2 separate regions of the Homo sapiens genome follow, and region 2 is linked to region 1. The links are contacts of gene promoters, found by promoter capture Hi-C in human tissues and cell types (Jung and others, 2019). All regions are on one chromosome and are shown on one strand. The core of a region is centred on a gene start or on the middle of the fragment in contact, and the rest is flanking DNA. Distances in the headings are between cores, read along the strand shown.

The links. The method cuts DNA at HindIII sites, captures the fragments that hold promoters and counts their contacts. A contact is called where the count stands out against the background at its distance.
Region 2: a contact is called between a fragment that was not itself captured here and the fragment with the promoter of MMP20 in region 1, in 1 of the 25 tissues and cell types used here (mesenchymal stem cells).

The regions. Positions count from the first base shown.
Region 1 is chr11:102,623,251-102,627,648 of GRCh38, reverse strand. MMP20 (matrix metallopeptidase 20) reads left to right here and starts at 2,317. Exons shown (of 10, transcript NM_004771.4): 1 at 2,317-2,455. The coding sequence starts at 2,330. The HindIII fragment of the contact is 4,717 bases long and covers 1,926-4,398 here.
Region 2 is chr11:102,570,903-102,575,059 of GRCh38, reverse strand. No RefSeq gene overlaps it. Among named protein-coding and RNA genes, the nearest start is that of MMP7, 42 kb to the right of the region's middle. The HindIII fragment of the contact is 3,164 bases long and covers 591-3,754 here.

The DNA of each region.
Region 1 (4,398 bases), core at 1,068-3,567:
CTATTATTCTCTCTCTAGAAAGGTCAAAGATGTTGCCTAGTGCTGACTCTGAGGTGAAATTTAGTCACACTAATATATAAATGACTTATAAGAACATAAATTGTTATTCCTCTTCAAAATTTTTGCACTTGATAATTAAAATGTTGCACTTAGGAACATTGGGATTGATTGCATTTGTGTGTTAGAAAAGTGGATACTGGAACCTTCTATAAGTATGTAGATCACACCCTATAGGCAATTATTAACTTCCATGTGCTTCCAAAAACAGAACCTAGAATACTCTTTAGAGTCCTAGAGGTGAGAATATTTTCTCTCTATTGGTCCCAGAATTTCTTACCGTCATTCCTTCCACTCCAATGTTCACTTCCATGTCTGTCTTTGCTTTGGGGCCATCATAATGAATTGGAACAGTGTTTAAAGGAGAGAAAAAGGGAAGAGGATGACCAGTTGAAGGGAAGTTTCAAAGATTCTTTTTGTTCTTCAATTTTAGCAGCTGTTGAAGATAAGGCTCTAGAAGACAGGAGACCATATAAATGCAAATTTTGAAAAATTATTGCAATATCCTATTCCTTTCCTGAAACCAAAAAGCAATGATTAGTATATGTTTGTACATTCATTCATTCTTTTTTTTTAACAAACTTGATTAAGTAACATTTTTTAGAATACAGTCTTCAAACAGCTTACAATTTAGTTGAATGAATCTAATCTGTGGTTTTCTTTTTTCTTCTTCTGAGACACATGTTTTGTCTATCTCACAGTACATGCCAGAAATTCTGTTTGCCTGTGTGTATTAGTCCATTCTCACACTGCTATAAAGGAATACCCGAGACTGGGTAATTTATAAAGGAAAGAGGCTTAGTTGACTCACAGTTTTACATGGCTGGGGAGGCCTCAGGAAACTTAGAATCATGGTGCAAGGCAAAGGGGAAGCAGGCACCTTCTTGACAAGGCAGCAGGAGAGAGAAGATCAATGGAGGAACTTTCAAACACCTATAAAACCATCATATCTTGTGAGAACTCACTCATTGTCATGAGAACAGCATGACGGAACCACCCCCATGATCCAATCCCCTCCCTCCCTCAACACATGGGGATTACAATTCGAGATGAGATTTGGTTAGGGACACAGAGCCAAACCATATTAATGTGTGACAAACTCTTGTTCAGTGCCTGGGGTTGTACACTAGATACCAAACATTGGCTGTAACTCCACCATCTTCTCTTCCATGCAAAGAAAGCATATCAAAATGCAACAGAGTGAGAAAGACTATAGGAATTCACTGTATTCACTATAGGAATAACCTTGAATTTAGTCTAAAATCAAAATTAGGATTTGAATCCACATCTAGTGGATGCCAAGTGGTGCTTGCAGATGTCATGCTATATGTGTTACTCCATAACACTGAAAAGTTTATACATAGTAGTAGTATTGTCAGTCTTTTGTAGATTAAAAAAAACTTGATATTCAGAGATTAAATGACATACCCAACATCACACAGCTAGGAAATATCTTTTTAAATATTTAGTCTTGCTTTGTCTGACTCTAAGTGCTTTTCCCACCATATGACACCATTTCACCGTATCATCTCTGGATCCAAATCCATCTTAATCAGACCCAGGAAAAACAATATGACTCCAATTAACCAGAGTACACAGAGATTGGGGAGTTCTGGCTATTGTTTTGGTTAACGAAGACGTAACTCTTGCCTTAATTCATCCAAAAGCTTTCTAACAGTTACCAGTTCACTTTCCACCCTAAGTCAGCACAGTATAATGTAATCTTGCCTTGATGATTCAGGATCTTATGTGTCTCAGAGCCATCATTATGAACAGCAGTTGCTACTAAGAAATTTTGAAGTGAATGCAGGAGATACAGGCGATTGGGTTGAATGCATGGGGAGTTTGGGATTACTTGGAGGACAAATTCAATTATACTGTAATCATCTAACTTTTCTGTAATCAGAATGGAAAAAGGCCCCCAAATGAAGACTAATCAAATGTTTCAGTTGAGTTGGGTTCAAATCAATCAAGTTTACTTCAATTTTTGTAACTAGCTGACCAACTTCATTAAAAGTGACTGTTTTTCTCCTTTTGCCACTTGGTAAATAACAAAAAAAATATGAAGCTTTCCCTGATTCCTGTGTACAGTTGTGTTACCCCATCATCAGGGAGAGAAATGAGCTGTATAATTACTGTTTGAGACATGAATCATCCTTGCTCGGAGGGTCCAGACCTGTTTGACTCTATAAAAGGAGCTCAAGGTCGAAGTGCAAACGTGCACTGTCTGCCATCCCCCAGGCTGATATAATTACCAAGCTACTGTGAGGGGATGAAGGTGCTCCCTGCATCTGGCCTTGCTGTCTTCCTCATCATGGCTTTGAAGTTTTCCACTGCAGCCCCCTCCCTAGTTGCAGCCTCCCCCAGGACCTGGAGGAACAACTACCGCCTCGCACAGGTTTGTGAATTTTTGCCCAATTCCTTCTTGCTCCTCTGCCCTAGAAAACCTAAAAGGGCATAGTGAGAAAATAAGAAAAAAATTCTATTGTTCTTTTAAAATCATTTTATATAAGTCCATTGAAGTCTAACTGATGCTATCTTCTGTCCACCTAGATTGGTGTCTGGTGCATATTAGGTGTACCATGTTACATGACTGAATAAATACATGAGGATATATCTACCTAGCTATCTTGCTTCATAAAGAATTCCAGGTGGCTTGTGAAAACCATGCAATATAAAAGGAGCAAACAAGTACTTCCCGGGAATGATGTAGGAGGAAAAATAGAAGCAGAAAAATAAAAACCGAGGCATAATCCACACGCTAGAGGCAGGTTGTGAATTTAGTGCTAAGCTTTAGCGGTCACAACAAGGAGATTTCCTGTGTTTCCACTTTTTAAATGGCTCTTATATTCAAGGTAACCCTGATCAAAATTTAAAGTGGACTAAGTTCTTCCTGGGTGCCAACCCACTTCTCATTTGAAGGCCTTTTCTCCCTAAAGCATATTCCCCAATGAAGTAAAAGTTTATGTACAAAGTACATAACAAAGTTTATGTAGTAAGTACAAAGTACAACGTTTATGTACTTAAACTTTGTGTATTTTCCTCTTTTGAGATCTCTCCTCTATGACTGCTGGAAAGGGTCTGATAGAAATGATCCATATTCAAATATTTCACAAAGACTGCTTGACTCAAAATGATTTCTACATATATATATATATATATATATATATATATATATATATATATATATGCTTCCAAGCGTGTTTTGTTTTTAAAAGAAGGGTGGCATCCTTAACCTAAAGAAATGGATGTCTACGGATGGAATTTCCAACATTAGTGAAAGATATATAGAGGAAATGCTTTTGCACACAGGCCTCCCTTTCAAGAGTCTGCCAACATTACAGCACATCTGTGATCACCAGCTCCGCCTCAGGGCTGCTTTCCTGACTGCCAGGCTGCACCTGTGTACCGCTTGGCTGTCTGCATCGTAGAGCTGATTTGCACCCATGTGCAATGGCATGTCCCTACCGATTGTTTCTGCCACTCATCCTTATTAACTGGTCAGTTCCCCGGCCATACCAGTCATTAAACACTTAAATATCAGCCCCGCAGATGAACAGCACAGCTGATGCCCAGCACAACCATGTTGAACTGAACTTCTTTTGACTTTAGCCCACTTTTAGATGAACTAAATTCAAAATAACTCAGGATACTGGGATCCTTATTCAATTGTATTTTGTCCATGCCACCTAGCTTTAGGTGCCTTCTTCCCAAATGTAATTTTCCCTACCCTGCCTCATGCCACTGTGATTCTGAAACTAAAGAGGTTTTGTGACCTCCAGAAGGAGAGCCATGCTGAGGCCAGAATGGATCTGAGGTGTTGGGAGACCCCCCTTCTAATCCACAGTTCAGGAAAACTACAGTTGGCCCTGCCCCTTAGTTTACAGATTGTCTATGATTGCTTTTGTGCCACAATGGCAGAGGTTAGCCTAGAAGCAAAGAATATTAATTATTGGTCCTTTGCAGAAAAAATTAGTCACCCCTGACCAGTCTATTAAGGAATAAGGCTAGACCAGCCAAGCACCAGTTTCATAGAAGACAGTTTTTCATGGACGTGGGAAGTAGGAGGCTGGAGGGGTGATGGTTTTGGGACGAAACTGTTCCACCTCAGATCATCAGGCATAAGATTCTCAAAAGAGCATGCAACCTAGGTCCCTCACACATGCAGTTCACAATAGGGTTCTGCTCCTATGCGAATCTGATGACTCTGCTGATCTGACAGGAGGCAGAGCTCAGGAAGTAATGCTGGCCCGCCACTCACCTCCTGCTGTGGGGCCAGGTTCCTAACAGGCCACAGACTGGTTTCCGGGTGCAGCCCAGGATCAGGGGACCCCTGGGCTA
Region 2 (4,157 bases), core at 923-3,422, 52 kb after region 1:
ATTTTCAACTGTGTGATGTTGACCAAATTCCCTCATCCTCATTCTCTGTCTCAGTGTCTTCCTTTATAAAATTGGAATAATGGCAGTTTTTATCTCCTAAGGATATTTAGAGCCTTAAATATATGAGTCAAAATATGCAAAGTAGTCCCTGGCACTCTACAGGGGCTCTATAATTGTTGTTTTTGAAGCCATTAGAGTTCATTTTGTTTGGTGATATTTTGGAGAATTTGTATATGTCCCTTGAGATAGCTAAACATCTGATGAGCTATAATATCACAAGAATTGATAATCAATGACCTGAAATTTTTCTCTTCCAAATGTCAAATTAAATCAAATAATTAAAAATACTATGTTTATCCCCCATCTCCAAAAAATAATTCTTATAAATCATTATTTTTTGTTGAGTTAAAGAATTCTTGGCTTTTAGGCCAGGCATAGGGGCTTACACCTGTAGTCCTAACACTTTGGGAGGCCAAGGTGGATGGATCACTTGAGCTCAGGAGTTTGAGACCAGCCTGGGAAAGATGGTGAGACCCTGTCTCTACTAAAAATACAAAAAATTAGCTAGGCATGGTGGCGCATGCCTGTGGTCCCAGCTACTTGGAAGGCTGAGGTGGGAGGACCACTTGAGCCCAGGGGTCAGAGGTTGCAGTGAGCTGAGATTGTGCCACTGCACCAGCCTGGGTGACAGAGCAAGACCCTGTCTTAAGAAGAAAGCTCTTTGCTCTCAGATATAAAATTAGTATGTATTTTGGAAAAATACAGTCTCTCTAAAGCACAAGAAGGTGTGATTGTGTCATAACACAGAGCACTTATCCTCATATGATACAAGAACGTTGTGCAGAAATAATTTATAACATAAACTACTCATTTGACTTCAGAGTAACTGAGTGCAAACATGACTTATTAAATAACAGTTTTGGACAAAGTGTGGTTGAAGTACTCCCTTGAGGATCACGAGGTAGCAAAACAGAGTTCACTTCCTGATGAATTCTATGCATTATCCTATTAATCTCAGTGATGACTCTTTGTGGGCTGAACCTTTGAAAGCACTACACAGGCTACTAAGGATGAATGGATTCACCTCCTTGGGGAGCTTTCCTAACAGCTCCATATTAAATTTTCTCTGGTATAAACCAAGCCCTCTTCCATTTAGCCTAGTCCTAAATGAAAGACCTAAGTTTGCCTTTGGGTCTTCTGTTTCTTTTCAAATGTTTATTGCAAAACACCTTAGATGTCCATTTCACAAAGCAAATGGCAAAAAAACTATGCAGTTTTTCATTCAGAATTCTGTGTATAATATTTTTAAATGCTCACAGGGTCTTCAGGGTGCTTTTATTTATATATTATCCAGATGTTTTTCTTTATTCCTGTTAGTTATTTTTCTTCTACAGACAATGATATTGAAGGTTCTTTGTGAATATTCATAGCTAAAATTACCCAATGAAGTGCCATTTGAGAGGAAATGCATACTGCTGGCCAATAGGTTGGTGTTTTAGACTACCATAATGGAGCTTAGAAGAGTCCAAGCCAAAAGATCGTCGGCATTTCTCCCCAGTAGGTCTGGGTAAAAAGTAGAAACAGCATCTTCTGATCATCTGTCATCTGCCAAGTCTCCTGTCTTTGGTCTCATTCCAATCCCTACGTGGCTTGTCAACATGATCAGTTTAAAAGGTATCCTGTTATACTCAAAATGTCATAATTTCAGGTTTGCTCCCAACACCTAGACCCTTGGAATTGAACTAGAAGCAGAATTGGGAAGCTTGCTGGTAAATAAATTACAATGGGAAATTAGTGAATGGCTTTGGGATCCAAAATAGGACTCTTTTTTTTTTTAATGCAACATCTCTTCATTTTAATGTCTTCTCCATTAGTCTTAACATTCTTTCCTTTAATCTAATGTATCATTTAACATGTTTGGAGATGAAAGTAAACTTTTGTTGCACAATGCAGCATGTTGTTCTGACAAGAGTTTGAGGAGAGATGAGAAGAGAAAACATGGGAGGGAGTTAATGAGAAAACAATTGCAAAACATCAGTTAAGAAATGTAACGCTTAAGTCCATCTCAGATCATTTGCAGTGAATGTCCATAAAAAAAAGAATGTCTGTATAAATAGTTAGCAATTTGTTTATTCTTGGAAAGTCCCAGGTCTGTAATGCAGTGATAAACAATGTGAGTTTTTGAGTTGGGTATTAAATGTGTTTACAGCTGCCTCTATAGAGAATGGATGTCAAAAGTCCCATTACAGCCCATTCCACTTGAACTGCAGACTGCTCAATGATTGTAGCATGTCACTTTGCCAGATTTTAAATGTATTTCCATATATGAATCAGCAATTTCTGTGAGTAATTTTATCAGTGGTTTCTTTTGAAATGCTTAATTTCTAAAATTAGTTCATCTTTACAAACAGCCAATTCAGCCTTTTTGAAGGATCTAGCTACCCCCCCATCTCTATCCTTAATATTCACTCTCAATTCACTAGAAAATAATTACTAAGCGCCTACTTTGTGCTGGCACCAACCTATGCTCAGCTGCTTTCTTGCATAAACTCCTGCCCTCAAGGAGCTTACATTCCATTAAAGAGACACACAATATTCAAATGAATAGAGATCTATAATGAAAGATAGTGAAAGTGCTTTGAAAAAATAAATAAAGCAGTGCAAGTAATAAAGAACGTTGGAGTGCCATTTTATAAAAATATGTTTAGGAAAAGGACATACTGGGTCCAGGGTATTCATGCAGAATAACTAAAGGGAGGGAGGAAGCTGTGGAAGTCTCTAGAAGTTTCAGGTAGAAGAAGCAATAAGCGCAAGACCTTGAGGTAGGTAGGAAGGATCTGCACCTGTTTTAGGCACACCAGGAAGGCCAGTGTGGCTGGAGACAGTGAGGGAGAAGGAAAGTAGAAACAGATCAGATCAGAGAAGCAGCTAACCAAGCTATGGAAGCCTTGCGGGTCCCTGTGATAAGAAGGGTTTTCAGCAGGTTCATAACATGATCTGACTGCTGAGTAGCAAACAGATTATAAAAGCACATGATGGATTCAGGGACACTAGACAGTGCCATTTGCCAGGGTAAAAATGATGGTGGCACTGACCAAAGAAGTGGCAGTGAAAATGCTAAGATTGTCAGATTGAGGAATATTTTCAAGGTAAAGCCAACAGTATTTGTATCTAAAGTGCATGCAGAATTTAATAAAAAGAGAAGGATCCACAATGACTCCAACGTTTTTGGCCTAAACAAGTGAAAGAGTAGTGGTGAAATGGAAAGACCAAAGTAAGAGCAGGTTTACGGGGGCTGGAGGTCAAGAGTGTAATTTTGAATTCATTGAGTTTGAGATGCCTATTACACATCCAAGGGGAAATGTCCATACATAAAAAGCTTAAGTAGGTAGATAGATATAAAAAGCTTGAGTTCAAGGAAGAGTTTGAGACCCAATAGAAATTTAGGACTTAAGCCTTAAATTGTTATCTACATTCCTTTTGATTTCCTCCACATTCTATGTGGAATTTAGGACAACGTAAATCATTAAAATATAAGAAGGCAGGTGAAAAATGATCTCAAGATTTTAATTATTGTCCGGTGTTAGTAAGCGCATCCTTTCCCACCTCAAGAACATAGTTTAGTTTTCAACAAAAGTTGCACACTTTTTTTGAAGTTTTTGTTTTTTAGTCTTCATTTTTCTATTTCTTGTTTCCAAAATCAAAGAAGAAATCAGAAAAGAAAATATAAAATCTTCAAGATTGTTCTGAATGAAAGTTGTTGAAAATCTTAAGGATTGTTCTTCAGGAACTAACAAGATCCTATGCTAATAAGTATTACTTATTAATACAGTAATAAGTAGCCTAAGAACTTATTAATACTTTAATAAGTAGCTTAGGAACTTACTAAGAAGGATAAAAGAATTTTTGAGATTTAAAAACATCTGTTTTATTCTTACAGTAAAAACAGTTCTGTTTGTTATCTCATCACGTCCTATAGAGAAAGTGAGTAGCAAGTTCCCTTAATAAAGTTTTCAAATAAGGCAGTTTTTTCAATTAATTTTTTAATTAACTTCTAATTTAATTGCATTATAGTTTGAGAATGTGGTCTGAATGATACAAGCTTTTTTAAATTTGTTGAGACTTACCTAAATTTGTCTTCTGACTTACCATATGAT